Linked DNA regions of Homo sapiens: all the other regions are linked to region 5. Evidence: promoter capture Hi-C in human tissues and cell types (Jung and others, 2019). All regions are on one chromosome and are shown on one strand. Each heading gives the region's core, a stretch centred on a gene start or on the middle of the fragment in contact. The rest is flanking DNA. Distances are from core to core; before and after follow the strand shown. Region 1 has its middle 10 kb from the start of LARGE1-AS2. Region 2 has its middle 15 kb from the start of LINC01640. Region 3 overlaps SYN3 (synapsin III). Region 4 has its middle 9.6 kb from the start of LARGE1-AS2. Region 5 holds the start of SYN3 (synapsin III). Region 6 overlaps SYN3 (synapsin III).

The links. The method cuts DNA at HindIII sites, captures the fragments that hold promoters and counts their contacts. A contact is called where the count stands out against the background at its distance.
Region 1: a contact is called between a fragment that was not itself captured here and the fragment with the promoter of SYN3 in region 5, in 5 of the 25 tissues and cell types used here (heart left ventricle, hippocampus, lymphoblastoid cells and 2 more).
Region 2: a contact is called between a fragment that was not itself captured here and the fragment with the promoter of SYN3 in region 5, in 4 of the 25 tissues and cell types used here (H1 embryonic stem cells, liver, mesendoderm cells and 1 more).
Region 3: a contact is called between a fragment that was not itself captured here and the fragment with the promoter of SYN3 in region 5, in 2 of the 25 tissues and cell types used here (IMR-90 fibroblasts and spleen).
Region 4: a fragment that was not itself captured here is called in contact with the fragment with the promoter of SYN3 in region 5 in 3 of the 25 tissues and cell types used here (adrenal gland, bladder and mesendoderm cells).
Region 6: a contact is called between a fragment that was not itself captured here and the fragment with the promoter of SYN3 in region 5, in 2 of the 25 tissues and cell types used here (IMR-90 fibroblasts and lymphoblastoid cells).

Annotation. Positions count from the first base shown.
Region 1 is chr22:33,172,422-33,176,846 of GRCh38, forward strand. It overlaps a transcript of LARGE1 not described here. Among named protein-coding and RNA genes, the nearest start is that of LARGE1-AS2, 10 kb to the left of the region's middle. The HindIII fragment of the contact is 8,863 bases long and covers 1-4,425 here.
Region 2 is chr22:33,120,752-33,125,402 of GRCh38, forward strand. It overlaps a transcript of LARGE1 not described here. Among named protein-coding and RNA genes, the nearest start is that of LINC01640, 15 kb to the left of the region's middle. The HindIII fragment of the contact is 9,037 bases long and covers 1-4,651 here.
Region 3 is chr22:32,980,759-32,984,951 of GRCh38, forward strand. All of the region lies in intron 2 of SYN3 (synapsin III), which reads right to left. Among named protein-coding and RNA genes, the nearest start is that of SYN3, 76 kb to the right of the region's middle. The HindIII fragment of the contact is 4,515 bases long and covers 1-4,008 here.
Region 4 is chr22:33,152,382-33,157,076 of GRCh38, forward strand. It overlaps a transcript of LARGE1 not described here. Among named protein-coding and RNA genes, the nearest start is that of LARGE1-AS2, 9.6 kb to the right of the region's middle. The HindIII fragment of the contact is 4,788 bases long and covers 384-4,695 here.
Region 5 is chr22:33,054,942-33,059,704 of GRCh38, forward strand. It overlaps SYN3 (synapsin III), which reads right to left and starts at 3,440. Exons shown (of 14, transcript NM_003490.4): 1 at 3,351-3,440. The HindIII fragment of the contact is 13,516 bases long and covers 1-4,763 here.
Region 6 is chr22:32,936,951-32,941,325 of GRCh38, forward strand. The region is part of intron 3 of SYN3 (synapsin III); the gene reads right to left. Among named protein-coding and RNA genes, the nearest start is that of SYN3, 120 kb to the right of the region's middle. The HindIII fragment of the contact is 4,443 bases long and covers 1-3,984 here.

The sequences.
Region 1 (4,425 bases), core at 1,771-4,270, 120 kb after region 5:
GGTTAAAAAGTGAAAGTTTCCCCTGCTCACTCTCTCTCTCTCTCTCTCTACTGCTGCCTTGTGAAGAAGGTACTTGCTTCCCCTTCCCCTTCCTTCATGATTGTAAGCTTCCTGAGGCTTCCCCAAATTTCTCTGCAATAGAATTTTTTCTGGATATTGTCTATGATGTGAATTCTCCACCCCTATCCTAGGAACTCTAATTACTCTAGTATATTTCACCTCCTAAGAATAATGTGCTAAGTATCATGTGATAAGATTATAGTGCTCTATTCGAGAACTTCATGAAGCATACACAAGTATCAATAGTCAAATTGATCAAGTGGAAGAGAGGATATCAGAGATTGAAGATCAACATAATGAAATAAAGTGAGAAGACAAGATTAGAGAAAAAAGAGTAAAAAGAAATGAACAAAGCCTCCAAGAAATACGGGGCTATGTGAAAAGACCAAATCTACATTTGATTGGTGTGCCTGAAAGTGACAGGGAGAATGGAACCAAGTTGGAAAACACACATCAGGGTATTATCCAGGAGAATTTCCCCAACCTAGCAATACAGGCCAACATTCAAATTCAGGAAACACAGAAAACACCATAAAGATATTCCTCGAGAAGAGCAACCCCAAGACACATAATCATCAGATTCACCAAGGTTGGAATGAAGGAAAAAATGTTAAAGGCACCCAGAGAGAAAGGTCGGGTTGCCCACAAAGAGAAGCCCATTCGATTAACAGCAGATCTCTCTGCAGAAACCCTACAAGCCAGAAGAGAGTGAGGGCCAATATTCAACATTCTTAAAGGAAAGAATTTTCAACCCAGAATTTCATATAGAACGAAACTAAGCTTCATAAGCAAAGGAGAAATAAAATACAGACAAGCAAATGCTGAGAGATTGTCACCACCAAGCCTGCCTTACAAAAGCTCCTGAAGGAAGCATTAAACATGAAAAGCAATAAACGGTACCAGCCACTGCAAAAACAGACCAAATTGTAAAGATCATCGACACTATGAAGAAACTGCATCAACTAGCAGGCAAAATACCACAATGACAAGATCAAATTCACACATAGCAATATTAACCTTAAATGTAAATGGACTAAATGCCCCAATTAAAAGACACAGATGACCAAATTAGATAAAGAGTGAAGACTCATCATGCTGTATTCAGGAGACCCATCTCACATGCAAAGACACATATAAGCTCAAAATAAAGGGAAGGAGGAAGATTTACTGAGCAAATAGAAAGAAAAAAAAAAAGCAGGGGTTGCAATCCTAGTCTCTGATAAAACAGACTTTAAACCAACAAATATCAAAAGAGACACAGAAGGCCATTACATAATGGTAAAGGGATCAATGCAACAAGAAGAGCTAACTATCCTAAATATATATGCACCCAATACAAGAGCACCCAGATTCATAAAGCAAGTTCTTAGAGGCCTACAAAGAAACTTAGACTCCCACACAATAATAATGGGAGATTTTAACACCCCACTGTCAATATTAGACAGATCAATGAGACAGAAGATCAACATGAATATTCAGGACATGAACTCAGCTCTGGACCAACTGGACCTAATAGACATCTAGACAACTCTCCACCCCAAATCAACAGAATATAGATTCTTCTCAGCACCACAATGCACTTATTCTAAAATTGACCACATAATTGGTAGTAAAATACTCCTTAGCAAATGCAGAAGAACGGAAATCATAACAAACAGGCTCTCTGACCACAGTGCAATCAAATTAGAACTCAGGATTAAGAAACTCACCCAAAACCACACAACTACATGAAAACTGAACAACCTGCTCTTGAATAACTACTGGGTAAATAATGAAATAAAGGCAGAAATAAAGATGTTCTTTGAAACCAATGAGAACAAAGACACAACATACCAGAATCTCTGAGACATTTAAAGCAGTGTGTAGAGGTAAATTTATAGCACTAAATGCCCACATGAGAGAGCAGGAAAGATCTAAAATCGACATCCTAATATCACAGTTAAAAGAACTAGAGAAGCAAGAGCAAACAAATTCAAAAGCTAGCAGAAGACAAGAAATAATTAAGATCAGAGCAGAACCAAAGGAGATAGAGGCATGAAAAACCCTTCAAAAAATCAATGAATCCAGCAGCTGCTTTTTTGAAAAGATCAACAACAAAATAGATTGACCATTAGCCAGACTAATAAAGAAGGAAAGAGAGAAGAATCAAATAGACACAATAAAAATGAGAAAGGGAATATCACCACGGATCCCATAGAAATGCAAACTACCATCAGAGAATACTATAAACACCTCTACGCAAGTAAACTACAAAATCTAGGAGAAATGGATAAATTCCTGGACACATACACCCTCCCAAGACTAAACCAGGAAGAAGTTGAATCCCTGAATAGACTAATAGCAAGTTCTGAAATTGGGGCCGTAATGAATAGCCTACCAACCAAAAAATGTCCGGATTCACAGCTGAATTGTACCAGAGGTACAAAGAGGAGCTGGTACCATTCCTTCTAAAGCTATTCCAAACAATAGAAAAAGAGGGAATCCTCCCTAACTCATTTTATGAGGCCAACATCATCCTGATACCAAAACCTGGCAGAGACACAACAAAAAAAGAAAATTTCAGGCCAATATCCCTGAGGAACATCGATGTGAAAATCCTCAATAAAATACTGGCAAACCGAATCCAGCAGCACATCAAAAAGCTAATCCACCATGATCAAGTCGGCTTCACCCCTGGGATGCAAAGCTGGTTCAACATCCACAAATCAATGGGCAAAAACTGGAAGCATTCCCTTTGAAAACTGGCACAAGACAAGGATGCCCTCTCTCACCACTCCTATTCAATATAGTATTGGAAGTTCTGGCCAGGATGGAAGGGAAGGGAAGGGAAGGGAGAGAGAAAGAAATAAAGGGTATTCAAATAGGAAAAGAGGAACTCAAATTGTCTCTGTTTGCAGATGACATGATTATATACTTAGAAAACCCCATCATCTCAGCCCAAAATCTCCTTAAGCTGATAAGCAACTTCAGCAAAGTCTCAGGATACAAAATCAATGTGCAAAAATCACAAGCATTCCTATACACCAATAGCAGACAAGCAGAGAGCCAAATCATGAGTGAACTCCCATTCACAATTGCTACAAAGAGAATAAATTCCTAGGAATAGAACTTAAAAGGGATGTGAAGGACCTCTTCAAGGAGAACTACAAACCACTGCTCAATGAAATAAAAGAGAACACAAACAAACGGAAGAACATTCCATGCTCATGGATAGGAAGAATCAATATCGTGAAAATAGCCATACTGCCCAAAGTAATATATAGATTCAATGCTATCCCCATCAAGTTACCATTGACTTTTTTCACAGAATTGGAAAAAACTACTTTAAATTTCAAATAAACCAAAAAAGAGCCCGCATTACCAAGACAATCCTAAGCAAAAAGAACAAAGCTGGAGGCATCACACTACCTGACTTCAAACTATACTACAGGGCTACAGTAACCAAAACAGCATGGTACTGGTACCAAAACAGATACATAGACCAATGGAACAGAACAGAGGCTGCAGAAATAACACCACACATCTACAACCATCTGATCTTTGACCAACCTGACAAAAACAAGCAATGGGGAAAGGATTCCCTATTTAATAAATGATGCTGGGAAAACTGACTAGTCATATGCAGAAAACTGAAAATGGACCCCTTCCTTACACCTTATACAAAAACTAACTCAAGATGGATGAAAGACTTAAATGTAAGACCTAAAACCATAAAAACCCTAGATGAAAACCTAGGCAATATCATTCAGGACATAGGCATGGGCAAAGACTTCATGACCAAAAGACCAAAAGCAATGGCAACAAAAGTCAAAATTGACAAATGGGATCTAATGAAGCTAAAGAGCTTCTGCACAGCAAAAGAAACTATCACCAGAGTGAACAGGCAACCTACAGAATGGGAGAAAATTTTTGCACTCTATCCATATGACAAAGGGCTAATATCCAGAATCTGCAAAGAATTTAAACAAATTTACAAGAAAAAAAACCAAACAACCCCATCAAAAAGTGGGCAAAGGATATGAATAGAGACTTTTCAAAAGAAGGCATTTATGCAGCCAACAAACTTATGACAAAATGCTCATCATCACTGGTCATTAGAGAAATGCAAATCAAAATCATAATGAGATACCACCTCACTCCAGTTAGAATGGCAATCATTAAAAGGTCAGGAAACAACAGATGCTGGAGAGGAAGTGGAGAAATAGGAATACTTTTACACTGTTGATGGGAGCATAAATTAGTTCAACCATTGTGGAAGACAGTGTGGCGATTCCTCAAGGATCTAGAATTAGAAATAGCATTTGATCCAGCAATCTCATTACTGGATATATACCCAAAGGATTATAAATCATTCTACTATAAAGA
Region 2 (4,651 bases), core at 1,718-4,217, 65 kb after region 5:
GGTGATCTGCCTGCCTGAGCCTCCCAAAGTGCTGGGCTTACAGGCTTGATCCACCATGCCCAACCACAGCCTGCCTTTCTTACTCCCTCATGAATAAAGCTGCTCCTGCCTGTAAACCGCTCAATACCAGGGTTATGCAGGGGCTCATCTTTGAGGTCAGACCTGCTAGAATAGGTCTGATCTGTGGTTTCCACAGAGGAATAAATGAGCTGGGGATCTGCTTTTTGGGATGTGAAGTCTGGCAACAGAGTAGCAGGTTTAAAACCTGACATAGTTTAAGGTAACATCTGTGGTGTCAAGCAGAAGGGCCTGATATTTAAACAACTGACTACCTGTTAGCCATTGATGTCCTTTTGCCTCTAGGACCCCCTGTATTTGGTTGGGGGAAGGATAATGACATCTAATTGTTGTTCCAAGGTAAATTTACTGCCTTTTGTTTTTTTCCCCCAACAGAGCAGTGGTGGGCACAGCTCAAAAGCATCCTGGCCACCCAGCTGCCAACTGGCCTAGCTGTTTAGAAAAGTAAGCCACTGGTTTAGGATTATTCTTGAGCCTTTGAGCTAGAACACCCAAAGATGTCCTTTGTTTTTAGTCACATAGAGAGTGAAAGGTTTGGGACATGTTCCCAGCATTTCTTTTAGGGTTAAGAATGCCTGTTGTGAGGTTCTGTCCCAATTCAAAGGCTTGTGATCACACTCTTTTAGAGCTTTATAGAGTGGTTTTGATATGATCCCAAACCTGGGAATACAAATATGGCAGAATCTGGCCATTCCCAAAAAGGCACTTAACTGTTTCTTAGTCTGAGTGGGCTGGAGTGCCAGAATGGTCTCTTTCTATTCCTGGGCTAAGGTTTTTGTCCCAGGAATAAACACACATCTCAGATACTTCACCCTTTGGGCAGAAATTTGGGCCTTGTGGGGAGATACCCAGTACCCTTCTGTATTAGTCTGTTCTTACACTGCTAATGTGTGAGATATAAAGACATACCTGAGACTGGGTAATTTATAAAGAAAAGAGGTTTAATGAACTCACGGTTCCACATGGCTGGGGAGGCCTCACTCATGGCAGAAGGCAAATGAGAAGCAAAGTCATGTCTTACATGGCAGCAGGCAAGAGAGCTTGTGTAGGGGAACTCCCCTTTATAAAACCATCAGATCTCATAAGACTTATTCATTATCATGAAAACAGCATGGGAAAGACCCACCCCCATGGTTCAATTACTTCCCACCAGGTCCTTCCCATGACACGTGGGAATTATGGGAGCTACAATTCAAGATGAGATTTGGCTGGGGACACAGTCAAACCATATCACCTTGTTTTCCCAGAAAATTAAGGATCTGGATTGTGTTTCTGTCAGAGGATTTTAATCTTTCCCCTGAGTTATTTCTCTAATCTTGTCATAATTAACTGGCTTGACCACATACTTTTTCATGCCTTCTATTAAATGAGTTAGTATGTGATTTCTGCATTCAAGATCTTAGGAATTGATCTGGAACTGCCTCACCCCCCTCCACACAGTAAATGGTATGGCCTTGGTTACGAGTAGCCACTCCATCTGCATGTTCGTGGGCAGTATCTAGAGTCTTTTTTTCTTTTCTTTTCTTTTTCTTTTTTTTTTTTTTTTGAGACTGAGTTTCACTCTTGTCGCCCAGGCTGGAGTGCAATGGCGCTATCTCGGTTCACTGCAACCTCTGCCTCCCGGGTTCAAGCGATTCTCCTGCTTCAGCCTCCTGAATAGCTGGGATTACAGGTGCCTATCACCATGCCCAGATAATTATTGTGTTTTTAGTAGAGACGGGGTTTCTCCATGTTGGTCAGGCTGGTCTTGAACTCCTGACCTCAGGTGATCCATCCGCCTTGGCCTCCAAAATTGCTGGGATTACAGGCCTGAGCCACCGTGCCCAGCCTGTTTTGTTTTTTTCTATGGCAAAACAAGTGGATAATGATATTGGCATGTCATGCCACCTTAAATCAAAGGACATGGCCAATTTAACAAACTCCTGTACAAACTTCCCTGGATCCTCTGAAAACTGGCCACATTTTCTTGCATAAAGCCAAATTGGACATGGAAAAGGTACATATATTCTGATTTTTCCACCATCTCTGTCAACTACCTGCTGATACGGACACAGGTTTGATTTGAGGGGCTGATACGGGACCCTACTGCTGGTGGTACTGGTTGGGCTTGCTTCCTTGGGCAGCAGGGGGCATAGGCTGGGATCTGTTGGATAAGGGGGAGAAGTTCTTGATGACCTTGGAGTGGAATCCTGTGCTAGAGAACTGGTGGGAACCTTCTTAGAACTGAAGGACTGAGGAATCTCCAAGGCGGGCTTGTAGGCGTTCTAGCTGGAGCAGCTAGGAAGGGGTAATCCAGGATATCTGGGGTAGCTTCTTGGTGCCAGAGGTGTTATGAGCCAGACACATTTTACAGCTATCTCTTAGGTCAGGATCTTGGTAGAGGGCCATAAAGCCTGCACATAAGGAACTTCTCCCCATTTTCCTTTCTTTTTACAGAATAAATCTAATTGTAAAATAGCATTATAACATAAAGAGCCATTTCTAGGCCAAATTTGTTGATTCCCCAATTTGTATTCGACTCAGTGTTGCCATGGAAAATGAGGTTTTTTTCCTCTTTAAATCATCAGATTTGAATTTCCTCCACTTGCCTAAAAGACATCCCGGTGGCAAGGCCTATGGGATGCTCACTGCTGTCCCCATGTCTAGTAAGGATTTCTACAGGAGTTTTGTAGTTAGTCTAAGTCTAGCAAAAGCTTAGTCACATTTTCCTTTCAAATTTTCACTTTTTGCAAAGAAGGTGTAAGTATAGGTAGCAAAGCATTACAAAAGCCAATTATGAGCTATGAATGGGTAGTAGAATGACGAGAGTGAATTCTACAGAGAGCAATGAAAGCATCTTAGTTTGGGCAGAGAGGGGCTAAACAGAAAGTAAACACAGAAGGGAGGAAGGGAAGGGGTGAACAGCATTTCTCAAGGGGAGACCTTGGAAGCTCGGATTCACCACAGAACCTACTTGGCAATGGAGACAACTGTCTGCAGGAGCCAAAATGGTGCCAGCCAGGCTTGTGGAACTGGGTGAAGGCCTGCCTAGGTGACCCCCAGCTTGGGTGGGCTTGGCTGCTAGAGGGGAACAAGTGTGGAGATCAGCAACCTGGTAGGTCCCACATCAGGCGGTGCTCTGGCCACTTGCCTGTCCTCTTGGCTCCACTGCCTGCCAGGATAAATGACGGCTCTGGCCAGGCACGATGGCTCACGTCTGTAACCCCAACACTTTGGGAGGCCATAAGGGGGCGGATCACTTGAGGTCAGGAGCTCTAGACTAGCCTGTCCAACATGGTGGAACCCCATATCTGCTAAAAATACAAAAATTAGCCAGGCATGGTGGTGGGTGCCTGTAATATCAGCTACTCGAGCGGCTGAGGCAGGAGAATCACTTGAGGCAGGAGAATCCAGGAGGCGGAGGTTGCAGGTTGCAGTGAGCCAAGATCGCACCACTGCACTCCAGACTAGGCACCAGAACAAGACTCCATCTCAAAAGAAAAGAAAGACAGAAAGGGAGAAAGAGACAAAGAGACAAAGAAAGGAAAGAAGGAAGGAAGGAAGGAAGGAAGGAAGGGAGGAAGGAAAATGATGGCTCTGAAAAGAGCCTTTGGTTGATGTTACACCTCTCTGCAGTGTTAGCAGCTCTTTGGTATTACAGTCTTAGTGTTACTGCTCTTGCAGTTTTGATGACCAATTTCCTCACCATCTCTCGCTGTCTCACTGATCATTGCCTCTTGCTGTCTCTCTCACTGCTTGCTGTCTCTTGCCATCTCTCACTATCTCACCAACCATTATCTCTCACCATTGCCTCATCAATCACTGACCACCATCCTCTCTTCACTCCTGGCTGACTCATCACCGATGCAGGGCAGATTCTTGGCTTTGCTCAGGAAAGAACTCAAGAGCAAGGCTGGGCGTGGTGGCTCACACCTGTGATCCCAGCCCTTTGGGAAGCCCAGGCAGGAAGATTGCTTGAGCCCAGAAGTTCGAGACCAGCCTGGGCAACATAGCAAGATCCTGTCCCTACTTAAAAAAAGAATTCAAGAGCAGGCTGGTGATGAAAGAAAGCAGCTTTACTGAAGTGGCAGCAGTGTCAAGTCTCTGTGACTGCTCCTTGTGGAGCAAAGCTATCGCATAGGCAGTGAACTGAGTAACAACATATGGGTGGTTTGCGGTCATATTTATATCTACTTCTAATGACATGCTAATTAAGAGGCAGTTCTACTCAGAAATAGCTAGAAAATGGGTGATAACTCTCTGGGTATTGCCGTGGCAAAGGGTAGTAACTTCAGGCATCTCCACGTGTCGGTAAACTGTGGTAGTGTCTTATAGGGATGGGCAGCGAGAGCAACTGGAGGTGCTTTCAGGACCCCTTCCTGGTTTCTGCCAGTCTTCAGTCTGGTCTGGAGATGAGTCCCGCCTGCCTCCTACCTCATGTGGAGTTACTGACACAGGCATTCATTCAACAAATATTTTTTGAGAACTATAATCAGAATTTGGTTAGGTGCTGGGTACACATATGTGAAAAAAATTGACAAGATTACTACCAAGGAGGAATGGGAACACTTATTGAGCATCCTATATGTATCGT
Region 3 (4,193 bases), core at 501-3,000, 76 kb before region 5:
CCTTCTCCCAAAGGCCTTACCCCAGAGGTGCATATTGAGACACATCCTCAGCCATCCTACTGTCTCCTCCCACCTTCACTACTGATTTTCTCAGTCTTTTTTTTTTTTCTTTTGAGACGGAGTTTCACTCTTGTTGCCTAGGCTAGAGTGCAATGGCCTAGTCTCGGCTCACTACAACCTCTGCCTCCCAGGTTCAAGCGATTCTCCTGCCTCAGCCTCCCGAGTAGCTGGGATTACAGGTGCCTGCCATCACATCCGGCTATTTTTTTTATTTTTAGTAGAGATGAGGTTTCACCATGTCGGTCAGGCTGGTATCAAACTCCTGACCTCAGGCAATCCACCCACCTCGCCCTCCCAAAGTGCTGGGATTACAGGCGTGAGCCACCGCGCCTGGCCGATTTTCTCATTCTTTATAGGTGGTGTGTGGTAGAGGGGAGATGGTGGATAAGATTGGAGGCTCAAGTTCTAGTTCTGTCACGTCACTTGACCTCTCTGCATCTCAGTTTTAGCATCTGTAAAATAATGATATTAATAATTTTGCTACAGGCCGGGCGCTGTGGCTCACGCCTGTAATCCCAGCACTTTGGGAGGCCGAGGCAGGTGGATTGCCTGAGGTGAGGAGTTCGAGACCAGTCTGACCAACATGGAGAAACCCCATCTCTACTAAAAATACAAAATTAGCCAGGCATGGTGGCACATGCATGTAATCACAGCTACCCGGGAGGCTGAGGCAGGAGAATTGCTTGAACCCGGAAGGCAGAAGTTGCGGTGAGCCAAGATCACGCCACTGCACTCCAGCTGAGCAACAAGAGCGAAACTCAGTCTCAAACAATAATAATAATAATAATAATAATAATTGTGCTACATATTTCTAAGGGTTACTTTGAGGATTAAATAAGAAAAAGGATCCCACATAAAAAGGTCTGAAATGATGGCTATGCTGACTATCCTAATCTAATCATTATACGTTACATGTATCACAACACCAATACGTACCCCATAAATATGTAAATTATTATGTATCAATTTTAAAAGAATTAAAGGATGTTTATAGTGTTTTATCCATATTTTTCTTAAATTCATGATTTTCATCATGTTATCTTCACATATATGTTAATCCTGTCTCCCCTACCCTTTGAAGGCAAAACCACACATGGTTTATCTTGGTATCCTCCAACCCTCCAATTTAGTCTTCAGAAATATGTTGAATGTATAAAAGAATGATGATTGCTAGAAAGTGTGTAATTTAAAGACTTTAGAAAATACAGTTTTGTTTGATCCAGTTTCATTCTCAAGTATATATGTTTGTGTTCTTTTAACATTAAAAATGTTATGGCATTTTAACTCTCAACAAAAATCAATGTTTTAGTGACGCCCATTATCCAAATCTTCTAACTATTCAAAAAAGGGAATCCTACAAAAATAAATAATGCAGTATTGTTTTATTGAGTTATACCTATATGCCCCACATACTCCACCAAAGATTTATTATTGATCTATCCAGTCTCACCCATTTCTCTATTTTTCTATTTGTCTAATAAAGCAGTCCTCATTTGTTCCTTTGTCTATCTGCCATCCGTCCGTCCTTCCTTCCTTCTTTCCACAGACTTCCTTCTACATCCCTGCCTCTGTCTTCCCCATCATCAGTACATGACATCCCTATCTACCCATTGTTTAGACATCATCCCTACACTCACTGATTCTACATTTTAATTATTTCTCAAATTCATTTACCTGGTGATTTTTCTCCATAAGCACCCTAATCCTGACCTATGATTCATCTCTATACTGAGAGTCTCTTCATATTGTTTTCATACTATTTATTACAACAATAATTATAATTAGTAACTGTGTTTAATGTCTGTGTACCACTAAACTATACCACAGCTCCTTGAGGTCAGAAATAACCTATTGTATTCATCACTTTCTTCCTAACACCTACCAGAGTGCTTAACACATAGTAGGAAATTGATTAATATTTGTTGAATGAATACATGAGTGAATGGACTGATGAAAAAACACTTGTTGAGTATCAACTCTTGTGCTAGAAACTCTGCTATAGAGTTTAACCTACAGCCTTTCTCATTAACACTCACAACCACCACCACGAAGTAGATATCATTATTTCCAACTTACAGATGAAGAAACTGAAACCCAGAGAGACTAAATATTTTGCCTAAGGGATTTGAACCCAGGACTTCTAATTCCATATCTGTGCTTTTGCTCAACTCTGAAAAATAGCAGTGAAAATTGGGGTCTTTATAGGTTTGGATATCGTCTCACAAAAAGTAACAAAGTTTCCATTTTCTCTTTTTGATTATTGGTATGATGACACTAATAGTTCTTGGTGACTTGCTGTGAACTGAGCATTGTGTTAAGCATTTCCATAAACCTTCTCTGGGACGGAGACAGCTCTTTGCTTCCTAATACTCATTCTCCCCTTTTCCCACAGTAAGAGAGTTGACAGATTGGTACATAAAAATGTGTACCCCAAGTCTCCCATCAGCTGGATGCAGCCACATGATTTATTTCTAATGGATAATTTTTTAAGCATTAAACAACCTTCTTAGTCTCCTACTCTTTTCCTTGGAAGATGGATGTCATCACCCATTATTTTTCAGCCTTCCATTTGTGAAAGAATCCTTTCTACAAATTCACTAACTGCTTCAGCCTGTCTGCTTCCAAAGTCTCTCTACCTACTCTTAGCTGATGCTGGTGGAGTTAATCTCTTCCCAAAACTGACTGACAGCTCTGATATTAGCACCACTTTTTCTTACGTCCTGATGGGCTTAGATGTCAACTAGGCGGTAGTTTAGTAGGAAAGGAACTATTAGTATGACTCGAAAGCAAGATTTTGATTTTTTTTTTCTTTCAGCAATGGTCTTCAAATAAATACCCATGTGGACAGCCTCATGCAAAGAGAATCTTTTCATACAGTTTGTGAATTTTATCGTAATCCTTAAAGGTAGTATCAGCAAATTCCAGACACCAGGACAAGCCCATGTCTAGTATTTGAAGTGCCTGGGGCAAAGCGACAAATGGAAACCTATGGGTCATATGTCTAATATTTAAAATTGACAAAATCAAGCCAGCAAACATTTAAATAAAAGACATCTGTCCACTGGGCATGGTGGCTCATGCCTGTAATCCCAGCACTTTGGGAGGCTGAGGCAGGCGGATCACGAGGTCAGGAGTTGGAGTCCAGACTGGCCAACATAGTGAAACCCCATCTCTACTAAAAATACAAACAATTAGCCAGGAGTGGTGGTGGGCGCCTGTAATTCCAGCTGAGGCAGGAGAGGCTGAGGCAGGAGAATCGCTTGAACCTGGGAGGCAGAAGTTGCAGTGAGCCAAGATTGCGCCATTGTACTCCAACCTGGGCGACAAGAATGAAACTCCATCCAAAAAAAAAAAAAAAAAAGAAAAAGAAAAAGAAAAGAAAAAAGAAAAAAAGAGTCCCAAAGAGTCTGTCTTCCTTCCTTGGCAGATACAATTTCATAATGACCTTAAAGACTCAGAATGTAAACTTCTCAGAATTCTTTGCACTCTACCCAGCACGTGGCAGCACAAGGATTGCCAGCTCTTGGTTCTCAGACCTCACCCAAGATCTTCCTTAATTCCCCACCCACTCTCCTCTGCACCACTGAGGCTCCTGGTGCGGGTATGTGGATTGCCCAGACCACGTGGCCAAGCTTCATCTACTCCCTTCCCCTCCCCAAATGGTTGTCCTTTGGCCACCCCTTGGAAAATGGACCAAGGAATTGGCCTATATAGGCTCTGAAGTTGGGTTAAGGTCCCTTTGAGGAGGGAATTCTAGAGTTTGGGTACCCAGGGCATGGCCTAAGAGTGCAATTTGTAGGGTCTTGGTGGGAATATCCCCTCACTCCTAACTCCTCTGCCTGTCAAGAGAGGTGTGGCTAATAAGGACCAGAGCAGGATCCAAGGTAGGCATCTTTCGTGGATTTAAAAATCACTTGCTTTTAAATCCAAGCTCCAAATTTAAAAGAAGTACTGGGTGGGCCTGGGACCGGGAATGGTAACCTATCATTACAATCACCAGCATACTGGGAAAAAAAACATGGATTTGCAATCACACAGGCTTGGGCAAAATCTTAGCTCTACTACTCACTGACCATGTGTTCTAAGACAAGACACTTAGCCCTCTGGGTCTCAGTTTCCTCATTTGTCAAGTG
Region 4 (4,695 bases), core at 1,528-4,027, 97 kb after region 5:
CTCATGACATGTGGGAAAAGAGTGCCTACTGGCCCGAGCATTGTGCTGGCCATAAGATTCCCACTGTTCCCAAAACGCTAGCTCACATTGGATCACACCAGCTGAGAGGTCTTTTCAGTTCTAATCATAAGTTGACTTCTCACCTATTTTTACTGAGTATAACATTTTTTGGATTTTTTATTTTTATTATATTTAAATTTTTTAATGGTTAAATTTTAAATTTTTGTGGCTACATAATAGGTGTATATATTTATGGGGTACATGAGATATTTTGGTATACATGTGCAATGCATGATAATCGCAGCATAGAAAATTTAATAATTTCTTGGTTATCAAAGGATCTGGTTTCTTTTTATTTTGCAGTACTTTGAATTTGTCACTTTATTTTCACCATATAAATATGGCTTTCATATTACACATATGTTAGTTCTTTAGATTATGTCCCGCATATAGTTTGTGCTCTATTTTGTTGTTTTTTATTTTGTTATTATTTTTTATCTCTGCTTCAATTTAGTTGTTTTCCATTTTCCTGATGGTAAGTCCACTAGTTTGTCTTCTGCTGTGTTTACTTTGCTATATTCTAAGAGTCTTTTATTTTCCAGTGCTAGATTATCAGCTTGGTTTTTACTCTGATTATAATTCTCTGTTCAAATATTTCAATTTCATCAACTTTGTCCAGCAGTTTTCCTATTTTATTTTCCGTATTTATCACAATTAATTGGAATTCCTTGTCTGCTACCTTAAACTCTGGATCATCTCTTGGTCTATCTTCATTGACTTTTAAATTTTTTCATTTATTTTTTATTTTATGTTTTATTTAAATTTTTTTAGGCATGAAGTTTCATTATGTTGCCCAGGCTGCACTTAAACTCCTGGGCTCAAGTGATCCTCCCACCTCAGGCTCCTGAATAGCTGAAATTACAGACACGTGCCACAGCACCAAGCTTTCACTGACTTTTTATTTCTTGATTATCAATAACTTTTTCCTGTTTCTTTGAATATCTGTTCATCTTTTTACTGTATGTTCAATATTGTAGGTGACAGGCTGTGAGTGATATGGATTATATTTCTGAAGAGTTTATATTTGTTTGGACAGTAGTTAAATTATCAATGAATTGTATCCATCATTTCAAACCTTTCTTAAGGTTTGTTGTGGGTGAGTTGAAATTTCCCGTCTTCATGGAATATCTTTTCTACCTGCAGCATAGTACTTACTCATGGTGGGGTGTGGGGAGTGTCTTTCTGCAACTTAAATTAAGGTCTCTCCATTTTCTCAGACACATTTACTTAACACTCTGTGATTCCTGAAATTTCTCTTTAGTTTGCATTATCTTACCAACAATTCTCTGTAGCCCACTATATCCTTGAGCTTTATTTGCATAGTTTATAAGTGAATTAGGAACTTCAGGTGAATATTTGCAGATATTTGGGTTTCTCTCTCTGTGACTTCCTACTCTTTGATACTTGCCCTTCAAATCCCAGGGGACTGGCGGTCCCAAATTTTAATCTCTGTTTCAAAAAACCAGTGAAACCATCATTCTCTAAGTTTGGTTGTATTACACCAGGATGTTGTTTAGGAAATTCTCATAAGCAGAAATCTGGGACCAATGTGGGGTTCACTTCTTATCCTCTTCTGCCAAGGTCATATTCCTCTATTGGTTGCTACCCAGTGCCTACAAAATGTTGCTTAATGTATTTTGTTTATCTGTTATAATTGTTTATGACAGAAGGTTAAATCCAATGCTAGCTAATCTCTAATGGCCAGACTTTGGACTTCTTGTTATATGGAAAAAAAAAAAAAAGTAAACTCCTCTTTTATTAAGCTACTGAAGTCAGGTTTACATTTTTGTTTTTGTTTTGTTGTTGTTATTGTTTTTGAGACAGAGTCTCACTCTGTTGCCCAGGTTGGAGTGCAGTGGCATGAACTCAGCTCACTGAAACCTTTACCTTCCAGGTTCAGGCGATTCTCCTGCCTCAGCCTCCCAAGTACCTGAGATTACAGGTGCCTGCCATCATGCCTGGCTAATTTTTGTATTTTTGTAGACATAGGGTTTCACAATATTGGCCAGGCTGGTCTCGAACTCCTGACCTAAGGTGATCTACTTGCTGCAGCCTCCTAAAGTGTTAGGATTACAGGTGTGAGCCACTGCGCCCAGCCAGGTTTATGTTTAATACAGGCAGAAACAACCTTATATTTTCTTCTGTGACTACGCTTTCTCTGAGATCCATTATCTTTTTCACTTCTATAATTCCTCATCACTCTTTCTTCCTTTCCTTCTTCTATTTAAGAATCATAATAAGTTAGTCTTTTTTTTTCTTGGGTTAAATGGAAAATATTTATTTATAAAGATGGATAAGACTAGGCCTCATAGATAGACATATATGTAAGATACAGATTTGATATGGTTTGGCTGTGTCTCCACCAAAATCTCATCTTGAATTGTAACTGCCACAGTTCCCATGTGTCATGGGAGGAACCCAGTGGGAGGTAATTGAATCATGGTGGCAGGTCTTTCCCATGCTGTTCTTGTGATGGTGAATACGTCTCATGAGATCCGATGGTTTTAAAAATGGGAGTTTCCCTGCACAAGCTTCTTCTTTTGTCTGCTGCCATGTGAGATGTGCCTTTCACCTTCCACCATGATTGTGAGGCCTCCCCAGCCACGTGGAACTGTAAGTCCAATAAACCTCTTTCTTTTGTAAATGGCCCAGTCTAGGTATGTCTTTGTCAGCAGTGGTACCAATTTACTGTATCAGAAAATGGACTAATACAGTAAATTAGTACCAAGAGTGGGGTGCTGCTGAAAAGATACCCAAAAATGTGGACTTTGGAACATTTTTACAGGTAGAGGTACCTGTTACATTTTAACAGGTAGAGGTTGGAACACTTTGGAGGGCTCAGAAGAAGAGAGGAAAATGTGGGAAAGTCTGGAACTCCCTAGAGACTTGGTAAATGGCTTGACCAAAATGCTGATAATGATATGGACAATGAAATCCAGGCTGAGGTGGTCTCAGATGGAGATGAGGAACTTGTTGGGAATTGGAGCAAAAATGACTCTTGTTACATTTTAGCACAGAGACTGGTGGCATTTTGCCCCTTTCCTAGAGATCTGTGGAACTTTGAACTTGAGAGAGATGATCTAGGGTTTCTGGTGGAAGAAATTTCTAAGCATCAAGGCATTCAAGAGGTGACTTGGTTGCTGTTAAAGGCATTCCGTTTTAAAAGGGAAACAGAGCATAAAAGTTTGGAAAATTTTCAACCTGACAATGCGATAGAAAATAAAAACCCATTTTCTGAGGAGAAATTCAAGGAGGCTGCAGAAATTTGCATAAGTAATGAGAAGCCAAATGTTAATCACCAAGACAAAGGAGAAAATGTCTCCAGGGCATGTCAGAGACTTTTGAGGCAGACCCTCCCATCAAGGGCCAAAGGTTTAGGAGGGAAAAATGGTTTCATGTGCCAGGCCCAGGGTCCCTTTGCTGTGTGCTGTCTAGGAACTTGGTGCCTTGCATCCCAGCCACTCCAGCTGTGACTAAAAGGGGCCAAGGTACAGCTCGGGCTGTTGCTTCAGAGGGTGGAAGCCCCAACCAAGCCTTGCATCTTCCATGTAGTGTTGAGCCTGTGGGTGCACAGAAGTCAAAAAATGAAGTTTGGGAACCTCTGCCTAGATTTCAGAGGATGTATGGAAACGTCTGGATGCCCAGGCAGAAGTTTGCTGCAGGGGTGGGGTCCTCATGGAGAACCTCTGCTAGGGCAGTGTGGAAGGGACATGAGGGTCAGAGTCCCCACACAGAGTCCCTATTGGGGCACTGCCTAGTGGAGCTGTGAGAAGAGGGCCCAGCATCCTCCAGATCCCAGAACGGTAGATCCACCAACAGCTTGCACTGTGCTTCTGGAAAAACCACAGACACTCAACACCAGCCCATGAAAGCAGCTGGTGGGGCAGAATGGGGAAAGGGGGCTATACCCTGCAAAGCCATAGAGGCAGAGCTGCCCAAGGCTGTGGGAGCCCACCTCTTACATTAATGTTATCTGGATGTGAGACATGGAGTCAAAGGAGATTATTTTTGAGCTTTAAGGTTTGACTGCTCCACTGGATTTCTGACTTGCTTGGTGCCTGTATCACCTTTGTTTTGGACAATTTCTCCCATTTGGAATGGTTGTATTTACCCAATGCCTGTAACCCCATTGTATCTAGGAGGTAACTATCTTGCTTTTGATTTTAAAGACTTTTAGGTGGAAGGGACTTGCCTTGTCTTTGATGTGACTTTGGGCTGTGGACTTTTAAGTTAATGCTGAAATGAGTTAAGACTTTGGGGAAATATTGGGAAGGCATGATTGGTTTTGAAATGTGGGGACATGAGATTTGGTGGGGGCAGGGGTAGAATGATATGGTTTGGCTGTGTCCCCACCAAAATTTCATCTTGAATTGTAACTCCCGCAATTCCAATGTGTTGTGGGAGGAACCCAGTGGGAGGTAATTGAATCATGGTGGCAGGTCTTTCCTGTGCTGTTATCATGATATCAAATAAGTCTTACGAGATCTGATGGTTTTAAAAATGGGAGTCTCCCTGCACGAGCACCCTTCTCTTGTCTGCCACCATGTGAGACACGCCTTTCACCTTCTGCCGTGATTGTGAGGCCTCTACAGCCACATGGAACTGTAAGTCCAATAAACCTTTCTTTTGCAAATT
Region 5 (4,763 bases), core at 2,190-4,689:
GCTTCCTAAATAGAGCTCAAACCCTTTTACTTTTCTCCAACACTATTGCTGTCCTCTAGCCCAGACACCAATATATATCTCACTGAGCTTCCAACTGTGACAAGATCTTTCTTCTCTCTATTCCACTTCTCACCTGGAAGCTGAGATTGACTCCTTTTAAAACATAAACCAGATCATCCATTCATTTAAGCACTATTTACTAAGCACCTTTCTTCAAGGAGTTCTCCTCCCAGAGGCATAACAGACAACACACAAATATACACTATCACATCAGGCTTAAAATCCTTCAATGATTCGTTTGTTGCACTTTAGATAAAAATGTAAGCTCAGCATGGCCTCCAAGACTCCACTGCCTTCAAACTCATCTCGGGCCACTCCACACAATTTGCCCACTATGCGCTCCAACCACAATAGCCTCCATTCCTCCACCTCGCGGTCTTTGAATAAGCTGTTCTCTCTGCCTCTTGATCTTGGCGTTGCCGGATCTTTCTCATTCCCCAGATCTCAGTGTAAATATCACTACTTTGGGAGACCTTCCCTGACTACACTGTTAAGCACATCCACCCTTCATTCATTTCACTCATTTAAGAAATATGTGCTAAACCCTGTGGTAGGCTCTTGGGATGAAGCAATGTATGATCCCCTGGAGTCTGCAGTCTAAAGGGGAGGACCAACAATAGGAAAGTAAATAAAATAGATAAATGACTGTTACGAAGGGAGAATAAAAGGGAGGGAGTACAGAAGGCCTTTCCAAGAAGGTTATATTGAAACTGAAGGCAAGGAGTCAATTGGACAAAGAGCCTGTTATTCTCTATCACATACTGGCTATGCAATGCAATGTTCCACCCCTCAACACTTGCTTTTGATGAATCCAAGCATTTAATGTCTATCTCCTCTAATAGACTGAGCTTTCTCCCCATCACCTAGGATAGCGCCTACTCCTTAAGAGACACTCAATACACATTGATTGATTAATTAGTGGATGAATGAATGATTAATCAATCAATCCACCAATGAAAGCACTTTGGAAAGTGTAACAAATCATAGAGTTGTGAGTGATTGTTATTATTATAATTATTATTTTGTGGCAAAAGAACATCAACTTGGTTGGGTTTTGGAAGAGACTGGGTTTACTATAAAATGAGAATAAAAGTACCTAAGTTGGAGTATTATTGGACAACTAGAAGAGAATGTATATACATAATAGACACTCAAAAAAGGGAAGCAGTAGTCTTCGTGGCTATTATTATTAAAAGCTCCTCACAAAAGCTGACTCAACTCGAATTCCAAAACTCATTTTCAGGTGCAGTCATGAAACTTAAAGGTGAGAGAAATGAATACTTTTAAGATATCTACTATGCACCAGGCACAGTACAAAGCACTACTTCATTTGTGAGGTAGTGTAGTGGATACCGTGGGGAAATGCTCAACTCCCCCTCCAAGACCAAGACACTCATGACTTCCCCATGTCCAGCTGCCAGAGTGTTGGTTACCCCAGCTCCCAGGTGAGTCCCTAGTCAGGAACTGTCCTGCTGAAGGGACATCCTAGCTCCCTCCCTAGGACCAGCCTGCACCCACTGGCTGATCAACATTAAGCTTCAAAGGCCTCGTCTCTTTGTCTCATGGGAGGGATTGAGACCTCTCTTGCACTGCACCATAGATCAACATCTCCCTCTGCCCAGTTCTGCTTCCCTTATCTGCACAAAAATCTCAGAAGCGCCAAGTCTTTTTCCAGGGAACCCAAACCATGACAGGTGAGTACAATGATTTCCTTTTAAATCAGAAAAAGAAGGTTCATGAAGGTTGCTAATGTCCCCAAAGCCTATGGCTAAAGTGACTTTCTGGTCTGATTTCCCAGCGAGCCCTTGTTCTTTCTACTACACCAATCTACACACAGCCTTGCCTCCAATGGCTGAGACTGGATCTCTGTGAAACAGAAAGGGGAGCCCAGGCAGAGGGGAAGGGCACACAGAGGGCTTGAAGATGAGAAAAGAAGAGCAGAGGCACCCTTCAGAGGCCTGATGACAAGACTGAGGTCACAGGCTCCAGAAACAATATCAAAATGATGTGCAGGCTGCAGAAGCAAGCATTACACGGGCAGCATCTCTTTGCCTGAATCCATGTCCAGAAGCCAGGGAGCAGGGCTCCCGGGCAGAGGGGGCTCCCTTAAGCAGGGAAGAGTATTTGCAGCCAAGGACCAGAAAACAACTACAACTTACCAGCTTTCTGATGCTCCGGCCTCCATCCATTGTCCCCAGAGCTGCCAGAGGGACCTGATCACTGATCAGAATTCTTCCACGGCCCTCCTTCATTCCAGGATAAAATTCTAAATATTCTAAGGCTGCACTTTAAGGTCTGTGCAGGTTTTAGCTTCCTGCCATGTCGAGAGCTCATTTCCTACCTACAGCAAGACCCGGTCCTACTCCATTATCTGCTGTAGAATTATCTGATGTGCTAGGTCAGGACACCGGACCTTTTCAGTTTCTTTACCTTTACACAAGAAAACCCACCTGGAATTCCTGCTCCCTATCAACTCACAGTCCCAACACACTTTTCAGCCTGGCAAAACCTCCGACTTCCAGTCAATGCTCACCTCCTCTCTGAAACCTTCCTGGCTTCCTCACCGTCCTCTTCTCCATCTCGAGTCTTCCGCACTACCCTGCACTGCAATTGCTCCTCCTACTGTCCCTCTTAGCCCCAGAAGCTCCCCAAAGGCCATTCTTCATGCTGCTAGGGCTTGGCACAGTTCCTGGCACTCAGAAAAAGCCAAGTAAGTGCTGGATAGATACACGAGGTGCTGTATCCATAGCTATTCTCTGCTTCTAGCTTGGCCAGGAAACCACTCTGAAATTTCATCCTGCCCCCAGGATGACTGGAAATCGGAAATGGCATGACAAACCTGACCTCCCAAACCCAAGGCAACAGGTCATGAGGGGTCTGGGGACCTAAGGCAGGTCCTAGGAGCCGGCGCAGAGCAGAGGTCCGGCCGCTGCGGTTCCTGGTTTCCCGCAAGCTCTTCCCCGGGCCGGGCGCTGGGTGGAGGCAGTCTTAGGATCCACAGTCTTGCGCGCCCCCGGCTCCCGGGCCCGGCAGACGGCCCCCGCACGCCGATCTGTCTGTCCCAGGGACCGGCCCAGGGCCCCGGCAGCGGCAGCCTGGGGAGACACCGTGGTGCGCGGCTCCTTGCCTCCCTCCCTGCCCCTCCGTGCGCCCGCATCCCGCGGACACAGAGCCGGAGCTCCAGGGGACGCAGCCCGACGCGAGAACGCACCAGCAGCCCCCGCTCGAGGTGGGGTCTCCCGGCTGTCAGAAACCCCACAAAGTCTACTTTGCGGCGCCGCGCCGCTTACCGTGCGAGCCGCCAGGAACTCGGCGCCCGGTGGTGCCTCGGCGCGGCGCCCGCCAGTCGATCCGCTCCGGGTCCCGGGAGCTCAGCCTCTGCCCCTCAACGCGCGCGAGCGCCCCCGCCCGGCGGCCCGGCCTCCCCGCGCCGCGGCGCCCCATTGGCTCGGGCAACGAGGCCCCCGGACGGCCCCGCCCACCCGCGCCCACTCCCTCGCCCACGCCTCTCCCCAACGCCTTGCTGGGTTCACCTCTCCAGGCAGGGAAAGTTGCTTCTAGACTCTGAGCTCTCACCGGACTCAGGAGCCCAGTTAGCTAATAATTCTGGGTCCCAGGAGTGTCTAGACGCCCCTCGGGGAGTGCGAAGAATGCAGTGTCCTTGGAATCCACCTTTGGGAAAGTCAGCTGACCTCCCGGACCTCAGGTGGCACCTCAGAGAAACCAGGGCCCCTTGTCAGGAAATGTCCCAGGTTGTGGGCTAGGCCCTAGGGCCAGGATGCAACAGGGAACAAGACAAAGTCTATCGTCCTCGTGGACTTTGCATGGGGTGGAGGTGGGGGTAGGTTATATACAACAAACGAAAAAAACAAGAGAATGTCGGCTGGGTGCCTGTGGCTCACGCCTGTAATCCCAGCACTTTGGGAGGCCGAGGCAGGTGAATCACGAGGTCGGGAGTTCAAGACCAGCCTGGCCAAGATGATAAAACCCCGTCTCTACTAAAAATACAAAAATTAGCTGGGCATGGTGGCCCTCACCTGTAGTCCTAGCTACTCGGGAGGCTGAGGCAGAATTGCTTGGACCCGGGAGGTGGAAGTTACAGTAAGCCGAGTTAGAGCCACTGCACTCCAGCCTGGGCAACAGAGCTAGATGCCGTCTCCAAAAAAAAGAAAAGAAAAAGAAAGGGGTCTAGGACTGCTATACCTAGGGTGGTCTCCGGGCCGCTTGTGATATTGGATACTTGGAGGACAAAAACGATTCCAGGGCTGAAGCAAGAGCATTGCTGACAGAGGGGTCGGCCGATGCATGGTTCTGAAGCTGGAACTGGCCCCCAGGGTGGCTGAGTGAGGTGAGCAAGGGGAGAGTGGGTTACAGCCAGAGAGGTAGACTAGTGTGGAATCACCATCACCCAGAACCTTGTAGGCCACCGTGAGGGTCAGGGCTTTGTCATATCAATCTGGAGGGAACAATTCAGGCAAGAGATTATGGTGATGAAGACCAGGGTGGTGACAGCAAGATACGGAAAAGGTGGACCTCCTGCAATGTGTGTCAAAAGTAGCACAGGAAGGCTTGATGATGGATTAGGCTGGATTTAGGGGATGCTATGGTTTAAATATGTTCCCCAAAGTTCATATCTTGGAAACTTAATCCCCAATGCAACAGTGTTGAGAGGTGGGACCTTTAAGAGGTGATTCCATTAATGC
Region 6 (4,375 bases), core at 513-3,012, 120 kb before region 5:
TTGAATGGATCAAGTTTATTACAAGTAACTTAACTGCATCTCAGAAAAAACTAAACCACTGTTTAAAGGAATCTAACAAAACCCAGCACCCAACACATCACATTCACAATGTAAAAGTAGTGACATTCAATCACAAATTACGAGGAATGCAAAGAAGCAGAAGAATATGACCCACAACAAGGAGAAATCAACGAATAGAAACAGACGTGGAAATGGAGAGATGATGGGAAGAGCAGAAATGGAAGTTAAAACAACTGTTATAAAGAGGTTCTCAAGAATGTAGATGGAAACAATACAATGGGAGAGAAAGAAACATATTTTAAAAATTAAAAATGAAACTTGTAGAGATAAAAATTATAATATCTGAAATAGAAAATGCACCGCTAGGCTTAACAACAGATTAGACACTTGTATCAGTCTGTTCTACACTGCTATCAACTACCTGAGCCTAGGTAGTCTATAAAGAAAAGAGATTTAATCAGCTCACAGTTGTGTGGGCTGAACAGACTTCTGCTTCTGGGGAGGTGTCAAGAAACTTACAATCATGGTGGAAGGCCAAGGGGGAAGCAAGCACTATCCTCATATGGCAGAGAAGCAGGAGAGAGAGAGAGCAAAGGGGGAAGTGCTACACACTTTTAATCAACCAGATTTTGTGAGAACTCTATAATGAGGACAGCAAGGCGGATGGTGCTAAATCATTAGAAACCACCCCCATGATCCAGGCACCTTTTGCCAGGCCCCACCTCCAACAGCGGGGATTACAATTCAACATGAGATTTAGGTGGGGCACAGAGCCAAACCATATCATGCTGCTGAAAAAAATGCTAGTGAACTTGAAGAGAAAACAATAAAAACAACCCAAAATGAAGCACAGAGACAAAAATACACACAAAAAAAAGCAAAGAAAGAAAAAGAGAGCAGAACCTCAGTGAGTTATGGGATAATATTAAATAGTCTAATATATGAGTAATTAAAGTCTCAGTAAGAGAAGAGGTAGGGACAGAAAATTTAAAACAAAATGGCCAAAGTTTTTCTACATTTAATGAAAACTGGACCTAACAAGTTCAATGAATCATAAGCAGAAGAAACAAAGAAAATAAACAGCAGGACATAGAATAACCAACTTATTAAAAACCAGTGGTGAAGAGAAAATCTTCAAAGCAGCCAAAGGGGGGAAAATACATTTTATATAAAGAGAAACAAAGATAAGAATGATAAACAGCTTCTTGTGAGAAAATAGAAAACCAGAAGATAGTAGTAAATCTTCCTTAAAGAGCTAAAAGAAAAAGAAAACCAGGCTGGGCGCGGTGGCTCACGCCTGTAATCCCAGCACTTTGGGAGGCCGAGGCGGGTGGATCACAAGGTCAGGAGATCAAGACCATCCTGGCAAACACGGTGAAACCCTGTCTCTACTAAAAAATACAAAAAAATTAGCCAGGCGTGGTGGCGGGTGTCTGTAGTTCCAGCTACTCGGGAGGCTGAGACAGGAGAATCGCATGAACCCGGGAGGCAGAGCTTGCAGTGAGCAGCAATCGCGCCACTGCACTCCAGCCTGGGCAACAGAGTGAGACTCTGTCTCAGAAAAAAAAAAAAAAGAAAAAGAAAAAGGAAAAGAAAAAGAAAACCAACCAAAAAACAACTGTCGGTATGGAATATTATACCCAGTAAAATTATCTTTTAAAAGTGAAGGCATAGGCCAGGCACAGTGGCTCATGTTTGTAATCCCAGCACTTTGGGAGGCCAAGACGGGTGGATAACCTGAGGTCAGGAGTTCAAGACGAGCCTGGCCAACGTGGCAAAACCTCGTCTCTACTAAAAAGACAAAAAATCAACAAGGTGTGGTGGCACGCACCTGTAATCCCAGCCACTTGGGATGCTGAGGCACAAGAATCACTTGAACATGGGATGCGGAGGTTGCAATGAGCAGAGACTGCACCACTGCACTTCGGCCTGGACAGCAGGGCAAGGCTTTGTCTCAAAAAAAAAAAAAAAAAAGTGAAGGCACAATAAAGACTTTTCCAGACAAAGAAAAATTGAATTTATTATAAGTCCAAAATGTGTTAAAGGAAGCTCTTCAGACAGAAGGACAATGATACCAGATGGAAATTTGTACCAATACAAAATGAAGAGTTCTAGATATGGTAAATATGTGGATAAATACAAAACCCTTATTTTTCAGTTTAAAAATATCCTATAAAAGATTATTAACTGTTTAAAGCAAAACATTGCAGGCATCATGGGAGTTTATAACCTGTAGAAGTAAAATGAACAACAACAAGGACACAAAGAAAGGGAATGAGAAATGGAAATATACTGCTGAAAGGTTCTCACAGTATATGTGAAGTGGAATAACACTATTTGAAGGTAAATGATGATGAGGTAAGGATGTACATTTTAAACCATAGAACAGTGCCTTGAAAAGGAAATATAGATAAAATAAATAAAGTATACAAATTTTAAGTTTATAGCTTGATGAATTTTCATTTATTTATGCTGTGTAATCAATCCTCAGATCAAGATATAGATCATTTCTAGAACCCCTGAATCCTCCCTCATCCTCATTCCAGCTGATCTCACCCCCACACCATGATGCTACCATTTTAATGTCTTCTATCTCATAGATTAGTTTTACATGTTCGTGAACTTGCTATAAATGAAATCTCACAGTACATGCACTTTGGTATTTGCCTTCTTTCATATCTGTGATTCATCCATGCTGCTGTGGTTAGCAGCAGTCATTCTTTTTTAATTTCTGTGTAGTATTTCATTGTCTGAATATTCAATAATGTGTTTATCCATTCTGCTGATGGTAGACACTTTAACTATTTCTATTCATCAGCTACTAAGAAAAGAGCTGCTATGCACCTTCTTATACATCTCTTTTGGTGGACATATACATTCATTTTCCTGGGTTATATACCTAGAAGTGGAATTGCTGGGTCAGAGGATAGGCATACAGGATTTAGAAGATACAGATGGAGAATTTTCCTCAGTGGTTTTGCCAATTTACATACCGTTAGCAATATGAGAATTACAGTTGCTCTGTGTCTTTTTCAACACTTAGTATTGTCAAAGTTTTTAATTTTAGCCATTCTTCAGGTGGGTTGTGTAGTAATAGTACATTGTAGTTTTAGTTTACATTTCTCTGATGATTAATGATACTGACCACTTTTTCATGTGCTAATTAACAATTTAGGTAATTTCATTTGGTGAAGTGCCTGTTCAAGTTTTTTGTTCACATTTGTATTCTTGTTTGCATTTATCTTATTAATTTATAAAGGTATCTCAAAATATATTGTAGATATGAGTTCTTTGCTGGATATATTCATTTGGAAATTTCTTCTTCCATTCTGTGGCTTGTCTCTTAACTTTCTTAGTTTTTTAACGAAGAATATATTTATGCACACACATATGTATATATGAAGTACAATTTAGTATTTTTTTTACAGTTAGTGTATCTATTGTCTTTAGCTTAAAAAATGTTTGCCTATCCCAAGGTCATGTAGGCACTCTCAGTGTTTCCTGCTAGAAGCTTCTCTGTTGAGTATTTCACATTTACGTCTGTAATCCACCTAGAATTTTTAAATATATACTATGTGAGGTAGGACCGAAGGTTCAATTTTTTTCATATGGTTATTCATATACTTTGGTACCATTTATTGAAATGAGCACTCTTTCTCAATAGAATTGCATTGGTACCTTTGCCAACCACCAAGTCACTTCATAGGTGGCAGTCTATTTCTAAATTCTCTATTTTATTCTATTTATCAATTTGTCTATCCTGTTTCAAGTTGTCACAATTAATGTAGCTTTACAGTGAGTCATGACATCAGATAGTATAATATTCTAAGACAGAAGTGACCCAAACAAGCCCCAGTGATGACAGGAGCAAAGGCAAGATAGGATGACCATCCTCTGTCTCCTTAACCTACTGATCAGAAAAAAAGTTGTCTTATTTGCTCACTGCAAAATACACATGGACACTGGTCAATCATATGACCTCAAAGGCTCTGTCCTGAATAAACTGATTAGATGTTTCCCTAGCAATATGATTGACTAGACAGAATGTGTTCTACTATTCCTTGCTTTGCAACCAACCCACCATTGCAGCCAGACCTCTCAAAGACCTCCTCAACGAAACCCTCACTTATCTTAAAGGTTAAAAAAAAAGTTTTATTAATTAAAAACAAAAAAATCCACAATTCTTAACAGCTTGTTAGTATGGTCAGCTGGTTGAGAGGGTAATAAATGGAGGAGAAAGCACATCTATTCTTTTAGATCATCACCTATACTGAGGACCGGCACTTATGGCAACTCACTATTGACATGCTCACACACCTCTAAAGGTTTCTCTTTGCTTTATAACGAACTTTCA